5 separate regions of the Homo sapiens genome follow, and all the other regions are linked to region 3. Evidence: promoter capture Hi-C in 16 types of primary human blood cells and fetal thymus (Javierre and others, 2016). All regions are on one chromosome and are shown on one strand. The core of a region is centred on a gene start or on the middle of the fragment in contact, and the rest is flanking DNA. Distances in the headings are between cores, read along the strand shown.

The links. Contacts are between HindIII fragments. The CHiCAGO score rates a contact against its expected background, and 5 or more counts as called.
Region 1: a contact is called between a fragment that was not itself captured here and the fragment with the promoter of SUGP1 in region 3, in 6 of 17 cell types (neutrophils, monocytes, fetal thymus and 3 more). The highest score is 9.8, in neutrophils.
Region 2: a contact is called between a fragment that was not itself captured here and the fragment with the promoter of SUGP1 in region 3, in 2 of 17 cell types (M1 macrophages and M0 macrophages). The highest score is 6.8, in M1 macrophages.
Region 4: a fragment that was not itself captured here is called in contact with the fragment with the promoter of SUGP1 in region 3 in 6 of 17 cell types (M1 macrophages, M0 macrophages, neutrophils and 3 more); the score reaches 9.2 in M1 macrophages.
Region 5: a fragment that was not itself captured here is called in contact with the fragment with the promoter of SUGP1 in region 3 in 1 of 17 cell types (monocytes); the score reaches 7.0 in monocytes.

The regions. Positions count from the first base shown.
Region 1 is chr19:19,508,713-19,511,469 of GRCh38, reverse strand. GATAD2A (GATA zinc finger domain containing 2A) reads right to left here. Exons shown (of 12, transcript NM_001384528.1): 12 at 2,538-2,757. Among named protein-coding and RNA genes, the nearest start is that of TSSK6, 5.5 kb to the left of the region's middle. The HindIII fragment of the contact is 3,522 bases long and covers 1-2,757 here.
Region 2 is chr19:19,092,702-19,095,401 of GRCh38, reverse strand. All of the region lies in intron 1 of SLC25A42 (solute carrier family 25 member 42), which reads right to left. Among named protein-coding and RNA genes, the nearest start is that of SLC25A42, 30 kb to the right of the region's middle. RefSeq lists an enhancer at 125-624. The HindIII fragment of the contact is 6,803 bases long and covers 1-2,700 here.
Region 3 is chr19:19,319,059-19,321,758 of GRCh38, reverse strand. It overlaps SUGP1 (SURP and G-patch domain containing 1), which reads left to right and starts at 1,250. Exons shown (of 14, transcript NM_172231.4): 1 at 1,250-1,296. The coding sequence starts at 1,263. MAU2 (MAU2 sister chromatid cohesion factor) reads right to left here and starts at 930. Exons shown (of 19, transcript NM_015329.4): 1 at 624-930. The coding sequence starts at 899. RefSeq lists a silencer at 550-771 and enhancers at 143-1,114, 823-1,312, 1,333-1,382. The HindIII fragment of the contact is 18,112 bases long and covers 1-2,700 here.
Region 4 is chr19:19,141,404-19,144,103 of GRCh38, reverse strand. No RefSeq gene overlaps it. Among named protein-coding and RNA genes, the nearest start is that of TMEM161A, 4.3 kb to the right of the region's middle. The HindIII fragment of the contact is 1,566 bases long and covers 498-2,063 here.
Region 5 is chr19:19,463,206-19,465,905 of GRCh38, reverse strand. It overlaps GATAD2A (GATA zinc finger domain containing 2A), which reads right to left. Exons shown (of 12, transcript NM_001384528.1): 2 at 292-566. The coding sequence starts at 560. Among named protein-coding and RNA genes, the nearest start is that of MIR640, 29 kb to the right of the region's middle. The HindIII fragment of the contact is 3,138 bases long and covers 1-2,700 here.

The DNA.
Region 1 (2,757 bases), core at 12-2,511, 190 kb before region 3:
CCCCATCTCTACTAAAAATACAAAATTTAGTCGGGCATGGGTGGCTTGCACCTGTAGTCCTAGCTACTGGGGAGCCTGAGTCAGGAGAATCACTTGAACCCGGAAAATGGAGGATGCAGTGAGCCAAGATCCCACCAATGCACTCCAGCCTGGGCAGCAGAGCAAGACTCTGCCTCAAAAGAAAAAATAAATAAATAAAATAAAACCTAGCCCCTAGCCCCTCTGGTTTATTCGAAGGGTGCTGCTCCTGACTGGGGCCATGCCTCAGACTCCCCACTTGGAAAATGGGCAAAACCCCATCCTTGGGGTAGTGGGCATGGCTTCAGAGTGGGCGTAGCTTGAGTACTGGGCCCAGGACCTTCCCTAGACTCCCACTGCACTTAGCTAAAACCCACGCCCTTGCCCCGTCTTCCCACCCAGTCCCACCACATTGCCCTTTTTGTTCTTGACCTGCCATGCTGGCTCCTATCTCCAAGCCTTTGCACACTCCTGGCACTTTTCCCCTCTTCAAGCCTTGCCTAAAATGTCACCCCATGCCCTCCTCTCAAGGTGCTATATGTTTCTGTCTGGATAGCTCCTGCCACATCTCCGGGGCCCAGGGCATAGTGCATGCCATCTGTCCACCGACGAATCTGTGGGAGCAGATGGGGTCAGGGTCTCTGCCTGCCATGTGGCCACAGACCCAAGGCTCAATTCAGAGAGGATGAGATGTCGGGGACAAGATGTCAGGGACGAGGGGAGTGTCCCATTTTCTCAGCTGGAGAGGCTATTTGAGACCATGACCCAGGACCCGCCCCTTGAATCTGCCCCAACTGCACTGACAAGCCTGTGCCCAATCCAGGGAAGCAGAGCCTCACGAGGAACCAAGAGCCAAGCCCAGGAGACAGCACCCCATAGGAATGTTTCTCAGGCCAAGCAAGAAATGCCTGTAGCAAGCCTCTGGCCCCAGCTACACGGTAGGCTGAGGTGGGAGGATCGCCTGAGCCTGGGCAACAGAGAGCCTCTAGGCACTCTAGCTTGGGCAACAGAGAGCCTATCTCAAAAAAAAAAAAAAAAAAAAGTGGCTGGGTGCAGTGGCTCACGCCTGTCATCCCAGTACTTTGGGAGGCTGAGACCGGTGGATCACATCAGGAGTTTGAGACCAGCCTGGCCAACACGTGAAACCCCATCTCTACTGAAAATTAACTGGGCGTGCTGGTGGCGGCACCTGTAATCCCAGCTACTCGGGAGGCTGAGGCAGAAGAATCGCTAGAACCTGGGAGGCGGAGGTTGCAATGAGCCAAGATCGCGCTACTGGACAGGCTGAGGTTCAGTTTCTACCATGTTCTCTACCAGCTCTGTGCCCATAAGACCAGGCACTTGGGAGTTGTGGGGAAGGTATGAGCTCCCAGGCCGGAGGCAAGGATGCTTCAAAGACAAGAAACGGCCAAGCGTGGTGACTCACACCTGTAATCCCAGCACTTTGGGAGGCCAAGGTGAGAGGACTGCTTGAGTCCAGGAGTTCAAGACCAGCCATGGGCAACATGGCAAAAATGTGTCTTTGCAAAAAATACGAAAATTAGCTGGGCATGGTGGTGCATGCCCATAGTCCCAGCTACTGAGGAGTCTGAGATGTGAGGATCACCTGAGCCTAGGGAGGTTGAGGCTGCAGTGAGCTGAGATCAAGCCACTGCATTCCAGCCTGGGCAACAGAGTGAGACCCTGCCTCAAATAAATAGCACCTAGGAAAACAGGGTCATGTTTTATGCACATTAAAATTCAGCAAAATGATCCCAGGTCTCACCTTAAGAATAAAACTTGAAACTATCAACACTTGAAAACATTTTTGCCAGGACGTCGTTCATTTTGGATCCAGGTTGGTGACTCTGTGCTTAGATTGCACATCTGTAATATCACATCCTGCAGCAAAGACACCATCGAGGCCCCCAGCCTGAAAATTGCTCCAGGAAAACCCACCACTCTAGCGTGAAGGCTGATGCAGCAAACACAAGCAAATTCCACTGAGAATTTTTTTTTTTTTTTGAGAAAGTCACGGTCTCTTACCCAGGCTATAGTGCAGTGGCGCAATCTTGGCTCACTGCAACCTCTGCCTCCCGGGTTCATGCGATTCTCCTGCCTCAGCCTCCCAAGTAGCTGGGGTACAGGCACCCACCACCACATCCGGCCAATTTTTGTATTTTTAGTAGAGATGGGGTTTCACCATGTTGGCCAGGCTGGTATCGAACTCCTGACCTCAGGTGATCCACCCACCTCAGCCTCTCAAAGTGCTGGGATTACAAATGTGAGCCACCAAACCCAGCCCCCACTGAGATTCTCATTCCTCTCTCCCAGCCCATGGGGTAAGTTTGCCACAAAGCTCCAGAGGAGAGGGGCCGTGGGGACTCCATCCCCACAGTAAGTGAGGCCCCAGCAGCAGATGCACCCCGCCCTTTGCTTCTCTCATTAACTAAGGGTCATCCTCCATCTCCCTCCAACCTGCCTGGGAAGCTAGGACGAAACAATACAGAGAAGCCAGGGCAGAAGGGACAAAAGAAAAGTCCAGTTGACACATCATCCATTTATTATCCTTCAGAGTCTAAAACTTCCTCGTGATACAACGTATAGCCACCCATTCCAGCCTGCTTATTGGAACTTCTATTCCCATCTGGTGGCAAACATTTCTTTTTACATTTGTTTTACTATCAAAGATTTAGAGTCACAATAAATACAAGTGACAGCCTCCACACCCAAAGAGCCTCCCCAATACCCTGCACTAGT
Region 2 (2,700 bases), core at 73-2,572, 230 kb after region 3:
CCTCAGGTGATCTGCCTGCCTTAGCCTCCCAAAGTGCTGGGATTACAGGCATGAGCCACCGCACCTGGCCTTTTTTTTTTCCCCCACCCAGGCTCAAGTGCAGTAGAACAATCATAGCTCACTGCAGCCTCAAATTCCTGAGCCCAAGTGATCCTCCCACTTGGTCAGCTAAGGGTGTTTTTTTTTGTTTTTGTTTTTGCTTTGACAGAATCTCCCTCTGTAGCCCAGGCTGGAATGCAGTGGCATGATCTCGGTTCACTGCAGCCTCCGCCTTCCAGGTTCAAGTAATTCTTGTGCCTCAGCCTCTCAAGTACCTGGGATTACAGACGTTTACTACCAAACCCAGCTATTTTTTATTTTTTTATTTTTAGTAGAGCTAGGGTTTTGCCATGTTGGCCAGGCTGGTTTTGAATTCCTGGCCTCGTGTGATCCTCCTAACGTGGCCTCCCAAAGTGCTGGGATTACAAGCATGAGCCACCGCGTCCGACTGGGTTGGCTAATTTTTATTTTTCATTTTATATTTTGTAGAGACAGTGACTCACTATGTTGCCCAGGCTGGTCTGGAACTCCTGGGCTCAAGCGATCCTCTGGCCTCAGCCTCCCAAAATGCTGGGATTCCAGGCATGGCCACCGTGCCTGGTTAGTTCCCACGCTTTAAAATCATCCAGTAAATGAAAACGCATTACTGCAAAGTGAAGCAAAGGGTGCAGAGGCCCCAGAGCAGGCATCAGTGCCGGTGAGTGACGCTGTACAAAGTGCACTTGGGATTCTGCTACACCAGCCTCCACTGCTGACTCTCCTAGTGAACATGGACCCATGGGCACTGGCTCTGGGAGAAACACCTGCTTCAAAGATGGGGCCAGAGAGAAAGGAAGAGCCTAGAGCACGTACGTGGAGGTGCCAGTCATGGAGGGCATGTTCAGAAACAGAAACCAAAGCAGATGGGTGTGGCGAGGGGGTCATGGGCACCCACCGAAAGAACCCTTGATGGCCAAAGCTGGAACAGTTTGAGTAGAAATGGAAAAAAACATAAAGCATCATGGATGAAAGCCTGAACTATAAAATAACCATGAGTCCATATAATATAAAGAAATGACAGAGTAAGTAAGTACATGGTAGGGAAGAGACAAATCTCCCAGGCAAAGGATTCCCAAATAGCACAGCAGCTCGGACCTCCAAGAGGGGCCATGCCTCCTGCCCTCAGGTGTGGCTGCGCTTAGCGGCTTCTTTCCAAAGAGTGCAGTCTGGAAAGGGGGCTGTCAGTGACTGCAGCACAGAAACCTGATGGATCCCAGCTGGGCTAGGTGATCCAGGACAACGCTGGCTGGGATAAGTCAGGTGGACGCATGTGCCTCTGATGGAGTGTGACGACTAGGGTCTTCCTCCCCCAGATCCATCACCCCATCTGACCGTGAGAAAAACATCAGGCTGGGCGCAGTGGCTCACGCCTGTAATCCCAGCACTTTGGGAGGCTGAGGCGGGCAGATCACGAGCTCAGGAGTTTAAGACCAGCCTGGCCAACCTGGCAAAATCCTGTCTCTACTAAAAATACAAAAATTGGCCAGGCATGGTGGCAGGCACCTGTAATCTCAGCTACTCAGGAGGCTGAGTCAGAAGAATCACTTGAACCCAGGAGGTGGAGGGTGCAGTGAGCCGAGATCACGCCACTGCATTCCAGCCTGGGTGACACAGCGAGACTCTGTCTCGAAAGAAAGGAAAAAACACCAGACACATCCCACCGGAGGGGCATTCTCCAGCAGCCCTGACCACTGCTCCCCAAAACTGTAACGGTCACCAAAAACAAAGAGCCTGAGAAACCGTCTCAGCCCAGAGGAGTCTAAGGAGATGTGAGGACTAAAGATCAGGTGGGATCCTTGGACAGAGAAAGGACATTCAGGAAAAATGGAAGAACGTGAATAAAGTGTGGAGCTCCATTAATATTAATACCATCTCAGCACTTGTTCATTAGTGAGGCAAATGCAGCACAGCACTGTGAGAGGTTATGCGTAAGGGACGCTAGATGTGTGCGGTGTCGGGGAACTTGGTACAGCCTTTGCAATTTTTCTGTAAATCTAAAACTGCTCTCAGCTGGGCGTGGTGGCACGCACCTGGAATCCCAGCACTTTGAGAGGCTGAGGTAGGAGGATCGCTTGAGCCCAGGAGTTTGAGACAAGCCTGGGCAACATAGTGAGACCCCGTCTCTAGAGAAAAAAATTAGTTGGATATGATGGCATGCACCTGTGGTCCCAGGTACTCGAGAGGCTGAGGTGAGAAGGTCACCTGAGCCAAAGAGGTTGAGGCTTCAATGAGCCGTGATTTCAGCAGTACACTCCAGCGCAGGTGACAGAGCAAGACTGGGTCTCAAAAAATAAAAATAAACTAAACTGCTTGCAAACAGACAGAAACCAGGTCCTAAAGACCTTTCCCAGCCGGTTGCTGGGGGTCGGCATCTTTCATCATCAGCCCATGGGATGCACTGCGTCTGTTTCACTCCGCCCCCCACAACAATCAGCCATGTCTGACTACTGCCCAGCACCACCCCTGCCGCTACAGACCCTGGGGGCTGTCCTTGCACTTGGGCGCTTGGGTGAGAACGGCGCAGCCTCTCTACTCCTTGATTCCTAGAATCGAGGTGCTGGGTCAGGTGGCCTGGACATGTTCTGCAAAGTCACCTTCCCCAGAAAGGATTCAGCCATTTGC
Region 3 (2,700 bases), core at 1-2,500:
AAATGACCAACTCCAGACTCCGGGTCTCAGCTTCCCTCGTACGACACCAGGCATTATTGATGGGGGCACAAGACCCTCCAAAAACCACGATTACCAAACTTCTGTGTCCAAGGAGAATCATGCCCTTCCAGGTTCCTGAGAGACCAGACTTCAGATTCCCGGGAGAATGCCAGGGGTCTCGCCTTCGCCAACCCCTACCCCAAGTCACTTTAGGTGGAAGCGTTTGGGGCTGATGCTCCGGAAGCTGAACCAGGAGGAGCTAATAGCTTCAGGACCCTGTGATGTCCCCATCGCCACCAACAGGTGGGATCCTCCTGAAAACCAGACGATTTGCGGATCCTGTTGCTCCCAATAACAGGCAACTTTCAGAGTACGGTGACGGGGCTCCTGGAGCCCTGTCACCAGAAACGGGAAATAAGGCGTGGGGGGCGAGGCTTTCGTGTCCCTTGAGAGGCTGGTGGCTTTGGGGTCCGGCAGAGGCGGGTGGGGGTCCTGCGGCTTTGACGGAGGTCGCGCCCCCAGGTCGCCGAGGAGCGGCCCCCCACCCGCCGCGGTCGCGACCCGTCAGCCCAGATCTTGCAAGGAGCCCGCGACTCCTCCCTCGCGGCCCGGCCCGCGCTCACCGCCTTCTCCAGGTGGCTGCGCGCCTGCTCGCTGTTCTTGGTGTGGTGATAGAGAACGGAGCCCAGCTGCAGGTGTGTACGGGCCTCGATGCGCTGCGGCGGCTTGAAGGGGAACACGGCCTGCAGGCAGTGCACGCACAGGCGGATTTTGGGCGGGCTGGAAGTGCGGAAGTGCTCAGCGAAGCCCAGAAGCGCCAGGTACCACGAGTCGGCCGCCTCGGCCTGCGCAGCCTGGGCCGCCGCCGCCTGGGCCGCTGCCGCCGCCTGAGCCGCCATTTTGGCCTCCACAACAACAAGCCGCCGCCACAGGGAGGCGGAAGCAGGCGCGCGAGACGGGGCCGGGCTCTCCTCGCGGCTTCCGCGAGATCTGCCGCCCAAAGCATCCTGGAACATGTAGTTTGTATTTGGGATGACTGCCGCTCCGGGAAGGTGTAAAAGGGCGACGCCGTTTGGTTATCGTGACTGGGACTTAGGCATCGCTGATAGGCTGAGGCTTCCGTTTCTGGAGGTTAAAAAAAAAAAAACCCAGTCGTTCACGCAGTAATAGGGCGAGTCTGACCGAGGCGGACTACATCTCCCATCAGGCGATGCACACTATAACAGGGCCCCTTAAGGGGCGCCGGAGCATTGTGGGATTGGATGAGTCTCAAGATGGACAACCGGGATGTTGCAGGTAACAGCCCCCGCCTCCTCTCAGGCGGCCGCCTGGGTCCCTGGGGCTAGGTGTCTCCCCTGACTCCTCGGGTCCGTCCTGCTGCGACCCGTGGATCCCTCGCTTCAGCCCCGGGGCAGCCCACAGCGTCGGCTTCTGCACCTCTTGGTTTCTCGAGACCCCAGACCCAGGTTGCTGGCCGCCCCCGCTTGGTTTGCTGAGGACGCACGGATCTCCGTAGAGGCCGCCACCCGGCTCGGCCCTGCGTCCCGTTTCCGAAACAACCGCCTTCAGGGCTGCTCCAACCTCCGTTCCCCAATACGGCGACAACCTTGGGCTGTCCCTGCACCCCTCTTTTCGTCGCAGCTGGCCTCTGGCCTGTGTCCCGCTTTCTGGAAAAGCTGCTTTTCCGAAGTGCTTTGAGGCTCCCTTGACACACTTTCCCGCGTCTTTTGACCCTCACTTTGCTGCAAGCCTTGGCCTTTCTGCTTCCCCAGAATAGAATGCATTTACCCATCAGCAGATACTTAGGGCGTGCTCACTGTGTGCCAAGCAGTGTGCTGGGCGCTACGCATGCAGCGGTGACCGAAACAGGGCCCTGCCTTCCTGGAGGTTGCTTTCTACTGGGGTGTCAGTGCATTAATGAGAAAATATTTACAAAAACTTACGTATGATGTGAGGTTACGTATGATATGATCAGAGTGGAGGCTTCTGATATTGGGTAGTCAGGAAAGACCTTTTCTTTCTTTCTTTCTTTTTTTTTTTTTTTTTTTTTTTGAGACAGGGTCTCACTTTGTCGCCCAGGCTGTAGTGCAGTGGCTCACTGTGGCTCCCTGGGTTCAGGTGATCCTCCCACCTCAGCCTCCCTAGTAGCTGAGACCACAGATGCGCGCCACCACACAGCGAATTTGTGTGTTTTTTGTGTTGCCACGTTTCCCATGCAGGTCTGGAATTCCTAGGCTCAAGCGATCCTCCCATCTCAGCCTCTTAAAGTGCTGGGGTTACGTAAAGGTGTGAGCCACCACACCTGGCCCAGGGAAAGGCCTTTTCAAGCAGAGGACATTTGAGTTAAGACAATGAATGCCAGCTATGGGAATCCCTGGAGGGTGGAGCCTTCCACACAGAGGGGGGCCAGTAAATGCAGAGGCCCTGGTAGGATGGGCTTGTCCTTTTGAAGAATGTCAAGGATGAAGCAGAAGGGAGGGGAACCATCTGGCGGGGCCTTGAAAATGGCCTTTTAGAATTCTTTTTTTCTTTTTGTTGAAGCGGAGTTTCGCTCTGTCGCCCAGGCTGGAGTGCAGTGGCACGATGTCGGCTGACTGCAACCTCTACCTCCCGGGTTCAAGCCATTCTTCTGCCTCAGCCTCCTGAGTAGCTGGGATTACAGGCGCCGGCCACCGCACCTGGCCAGTGTTTTTGTGTATT
Region 4 (2,700 bases), core at 31-2,530, 180 kb after region 3:
ACTGACTTCTAGCCGGGCACGGTGGCTCACACCTGTAATCCTAGCACTTTGGGGGGCCAAGGCGGGCAGATCACTTGAGGCCAGAAATTTGAGACCATCTCTACTAAAAATACAAAAATTAGCTGGGCCTCATGGCCCATGCCTGTAATCCCAGCTACTTGGGAGGCCGAGGCACGAGAATCACTTGAACTCAAGAGGTGGTGGTTGCAGTTAGCCGAGATCCAGATCGTGCCACTGCATTCCAGCCTGCACAACAGAGCAAGACTCCGTCTCAAAAAAAAAAAAAAAAAAAAAATTACTTCTTGCCTGTAATCCCAGTCCTTTGGGAGGCTGAGGAGGAAGGATGCCTTGAGCCCAGGAGTTGGAGGCTGCAGTGGGCTATTACCAGCCCACTACAATCCAGCCTGAGTGACAGAACAAGACATTGTCTCTAAAAATAACAGTAATAAAATTTAAAAGATCTGCCTCTGCCATGTTCTGCTCATCTCTTTGAAGCTTTTCCTCATCCTTAGAAGGAAGTTGGGCTCCTCAGCTGCCCTACCCTAGTCTGGCCTGGTCTCCTATCCCTGTCCCAGCCTCTCCAGTACCTTAGAAATATTTGCAGTACCAACATGTGACCCTACTGGTCTTTCCTGGAGCGCCTCCCTCAACCCCCAACTTGTCTCCTTTTTAAACTCCTTCCCACCCTCCAAGGCCCAGCTCTGCCTCTCTTCCTCCATGACGCCTTCTACACTGTCCCAAGCTGAGAAACACCTTTGTGAGTTGGAGTTCACAGATTTGGACAGGAAGACGGAAAACATGAGTGTTGAGATCAAGACTTACAAGATCCGCCTTGGCCGGGGACAGTGGCTCACCCCTGTAATCCAAATACTTTGAGAGGCTGAGGTGGGAGGATGGCCTAAGCCCAGGAGTTCAAGACTAGCTTGGGCAACATGGTGAATCCCATCTCTTAAAAAAAAAAAAAAATTAGCCAGGCGTGGCAGTGCACACCTCTAGTCCCAGCTTCTCAGGAGGCTGAGGTGGGAGAATCACCTGAGCCCGGGAAGTCAAGGCTGCAGTGAGCCATGATTGAGCCACTGCACTCCAGCCTGGGCAACAGAGCAAAAGACCCCGTCTCAAAGAGTAAAAAAACAAAAACAAAAACAGGCCGGGCATGGTGGCTCACACCTGTAATCCCAGCACTTTGGGAGGCTGAGGCAGGTGGATCACTTGAGGTCAGGAGTTCGAGACCAGCCTGACCAATGTGGTGAAACCTCGTCTCTATTAAAAATACGAAAATTAGCCGGGCATGGTAGTGTGTGCCTGTAGTCCCAGATACTCAGGAGGCTGAGGCAGGAGAATCACTTGAACCCGGGAAGTGGAGGTTGCAGTGAGCCGAAATCGCGCCACTGCACTCCAGCCTGGGCAACAGAGCAAGACTCTATCTCAAAAACCAAACAAACAAACAAACTCACCTGCTTTCCAATCACTCTGCCAAGATCCAAAGCTGAGCTGGTTGGCACAGCTCAGCCAGAATGGGCGGGGTACGTTGACTGACAATTTCAAAATCCTTTCTGTCACTCAGCGCCCCAGGGAGAGATTTCTTCAGTAAAACTGAGCACCTTGCATTTCACCCTTAGCGCACACAGTCCTAGACAAGATGATGGGCGGGACGCCTTTTAAGGGATAGGGAGACTGGACAAAGTATATAAGTGACAGAACCCGGAGGGGGCACTTGTTTATACGGCGGAGTATAGGATGCCATCTGCACCCCAGACCCCAGCTAAGGTTTGTCCTACGTCATCTTCGCCACCCTCATCCCCAGTGAGGTGGGGGCTTTGGGGCCCCAGTTTCCAGGATAGGGATATGGCATGATCAAAGTGTGTAAAAGCCCCTCCCCAGGCTCCCGTGGCAGGGGGCATTGGGAGCTGAGGGGAGGCAGTGCCCCCTGGAATGATCACTCTCTGTGTGTGCGTGGAGGCAAACCCACCAGGACTCCAGAACGGCTCGGAGGTGGAGGTGAAGGGAAGAGCGTGCCGTGGGTGACTGGAAGCTCCCATTTCATCCTCTGTGCTGTGGAAGCTTGTAGGGAATGAGACTTGGATGGGGTGAACTTGAAGCCTCTGCAGAGTGTCCAAGTGCGGCTAGAGATTTCGCTCACCCAACCCAGACTCAGGTCTTTTTTCTTTTTCTTTTCTACTTACTTATTTTTATTATTTTGTTTTGTTTTTGTTTTTTGTTTTGAGAGAGAGTCTCGCTCTGTCATGCAGGCTGGAGTGCAATGGCACGATCTCGGCTCACTGCAGCCTCTGCCTCCCAGGTTCAAGCGATTCTCCTGCCTCAGCCTCCTGAGTAGCTGGGACTACAGGCATGTGCCACCATGCTCAGCTAATTTTTTGTATCTTTAGTGGAGACGGGGTTTCACTATGTTGGCAAGGCTGGTCTCAAACTCCTGACCTCAGGTAATCCACCCACCTCGGTCTCCCAAAGTGCTGGGATTACAGGTGTGAGCCACCGCTCCTGGCCTAATTTTGTTTTTATTATTATTGGGTTTTTTTTTTTGTTTTTTTGTTCTGAGACAAAGTCTCACTCTGTTGCCCAGGCTGGAGTGCAGTGGCGGGATCTCGGCTCACTGCAGCTTCTGCCTCCCGGGTTCAAACGATTCTCGTCCTTCCCAAATAGCTCGGATTACAGGCGACTGCCACCACACCCGGCTAATTT
Region 5 (2,700 bases), core at 11-2,510, 140 kb before region 3:
AGCAGGTGCGTGGGTGGCAAAGGCCTACTGATGGCAGGGGAGCTGATGGAATGTGCCACTCCTTCTCCTGTGAGACCCACACTCTGTGCCACTTGCAGTTGGGACCTGGGGCCCTGGAATGGCCACAACAGCACAGCTGCCAGTGGTGGGTGATGCCCGAGCTGAGCCTACAGCCCTCTCCACAACCCCGCCAAGCTGTTACCAACAGGCCTGGAGTGTGGCCAGCCCCAACCTGGGCACACTGGGCTTGTCTCCAGGTTCCAGCCCCTCCCGCTGGCTCCTCCCACTCACCTGTGTGAGGTGCGCATGTCCACGGGCCCATCGCCCACCAGCCCTTCGCCTCTGCCCATGGCCATGGCCGTGGCCTCTGTTGCCCTCAGCAATCCTTGGGTTGGACCTGCTCCCGGCTCAGGTGTCACCCTCATGTCTCCGTCAGTGTTTAAATCTGAAGCCAACAATCCTCTCTCCATTTTTATTTTCTTGCTCTCCACATCGTCCTCTGTTGGGTCCCGTTCAAGCGCTCGTTTCTGACTCCGTGTTCGGCATGCTTCTTCGGTCATTCTGAACTTGGGAGGGAGGAGAAGACACAACATTTTAACTGGGTGCAATGAAGGTGCCACCTTCTTGGAGACTTTTCAGTGTTGCTTTCAGTGTTTTCCTCCCTATGGGAAGGATGGCAAAAGAATGTACAACAAACGCAGGGCCCAGAAAAGCATCCCCAGGACATTTCATCACTGCCTTGAGGAAGGCTAGGCAGGAGGGGGGTGTCCCCAGCCTCCACTGTGTGGCTGAACATTGGTGGAGCCAAACTACACCCTGCCCTGTTGGGGGCCAGAGGCAGCAGGGTGCTGAACAGGAGCAGTGGAAGGTGGCTGCTTATCAGCAAGGAAAGGCTCAACAGCAAACAGAGGAAAAGTTGTTCTAGATCTCAACTACCTGCCTTTGGGATTTTCAGCACCTGCAATGTCTGGAATCCAGGAGGGCGGTGACTGCACTGTTCCAGGAGCAGGGTCGGGGCCTGGGACTAGCCCTATGCTGTGGTGACTCGAGTTAACCCCAGCTTCTCCCCTTCAGGGAAGGGAGGTCTCCTCACTCCCTGCTCACCTCTGGGGAGTGGGGACTGGGGATCACATTTAACCCTTTGGTTGCCAGTGAGGTACACTTTGAGTAGAGTGAGGCCTGGCCCATCAACGTGCCACTGCCCTGTACCTGCAGCACACACATATCTTGATTTAAAGAAGAAAGAAAAAGAAGAAAAAAACAGCTGAGTCAGTTTTTGATCCCATGACATCACTGGCTCCACATGACCCTTCCCAGGATTCAGTCGGAGAGACAAAGCACTTTCCAGAAAACCAGTCTGAACCGGTTCCAGACAACAGGCTGAAGTGTTGTTAACCCTCACGGAGACAGGACGACAGCACAGCGATGTCTGTCTGCAGGGAGGCGGCTGGCATTCCACAGCAGGGTCTGGGACACTGGCACTCTTAAAGGGGCTGCTCTAATCCCGGCCTCGACGTCCCAACAGGACAGGGCACAGGAATTGAGACAGAGAGAGTCAGGTTCTTAAAAAAGCATCCCAGTGTTTACCAGAGGACAAAAGAGAAATTTAGCAGCTGAGCTCTAGTGGAATTCCCGAAGTGTCACAGTTTTCCATGGGACAGTTGGTGCCCACTTGGGCCCCACAGAGAACCCCAATTCACACCTGTGGCATGCTCTATGCTGAAGCCCTCTGGTCCTATCTGTGTCCTCACAGGCAGGGCACTCATCTTGCCAGAGCCTTAGTTTCCTCACTGGCAAACACCCTGGGGAAGCCTGTCCCAGGTAGAGCCAGGCAGACCGTCTGGAAGCTGGGGGCAGCACAAGGCAACACAGGGGTCCTGTCGCCATCCATGGGACGCACTCCAGAGCTGACTCATCTGCAGCTTCCTTAAAGGAGCCAATTTCACAAATGAGCAATAGCGCAAGGCCCTGCCCAAATGTGCCCCCTCATGCACTCAAACTGAAAGGAAAGAAAGAGACAGCTGCTTCACGCTCCTGGAGCCAGAGGGAAAGCAGGCCGTCTACATGCGTGTTGTGCCAGTGTGGTCCAGCCAGGGCACCCGGGCACCGGCTTGAAACACTGGGGTCTCCTCAAGGCCAGGAAATCCCTGGTGCTTCACACAGGCCCAGAGCAGCTCTGTGCTCCCTACCCTGTCTCACCACCACCCAGGTGCCATGGCTGACCCTTAACATGACCAGGCTGAGGCAGGGAGACTCCGAATCTCAAGGGCACAGGTTTTCAGACTTGCCTCCACCTGTCCCCAGCCCCTCTGGCATCCCAGCCTGCACCTACCACCTATCCCACACCAACTGTGCGGCCTCCGCTGCCCCCGGCCACCCTGTCCACCCCCGCCCCCGCTCCTGCTCAGCTGCCCCTCAGCTCCTCCGTGGAATGGAGCCCAGGTAGAGGTCGAATGTGGAGGTCATGGCCTCACTTCTCTGGGGGAGGTGAGGAATGCTACGGTGTCCCTCTCAGCCCTGAAGTTCTATGGTCTCTGTCCTTCCTTCCTCCGACATGCCTTGCCCATAAACCCCATCTGAACTGCTCACTAACAGGTTGTCTGTCTTGCCTCCCATGAGACCACAGATAAGTCACTGCCCTCAGAGTGTGGGTCCCCTCCTCTCATTTCCCTCACTGTGGGAGGGGTGGGACATTTCTCC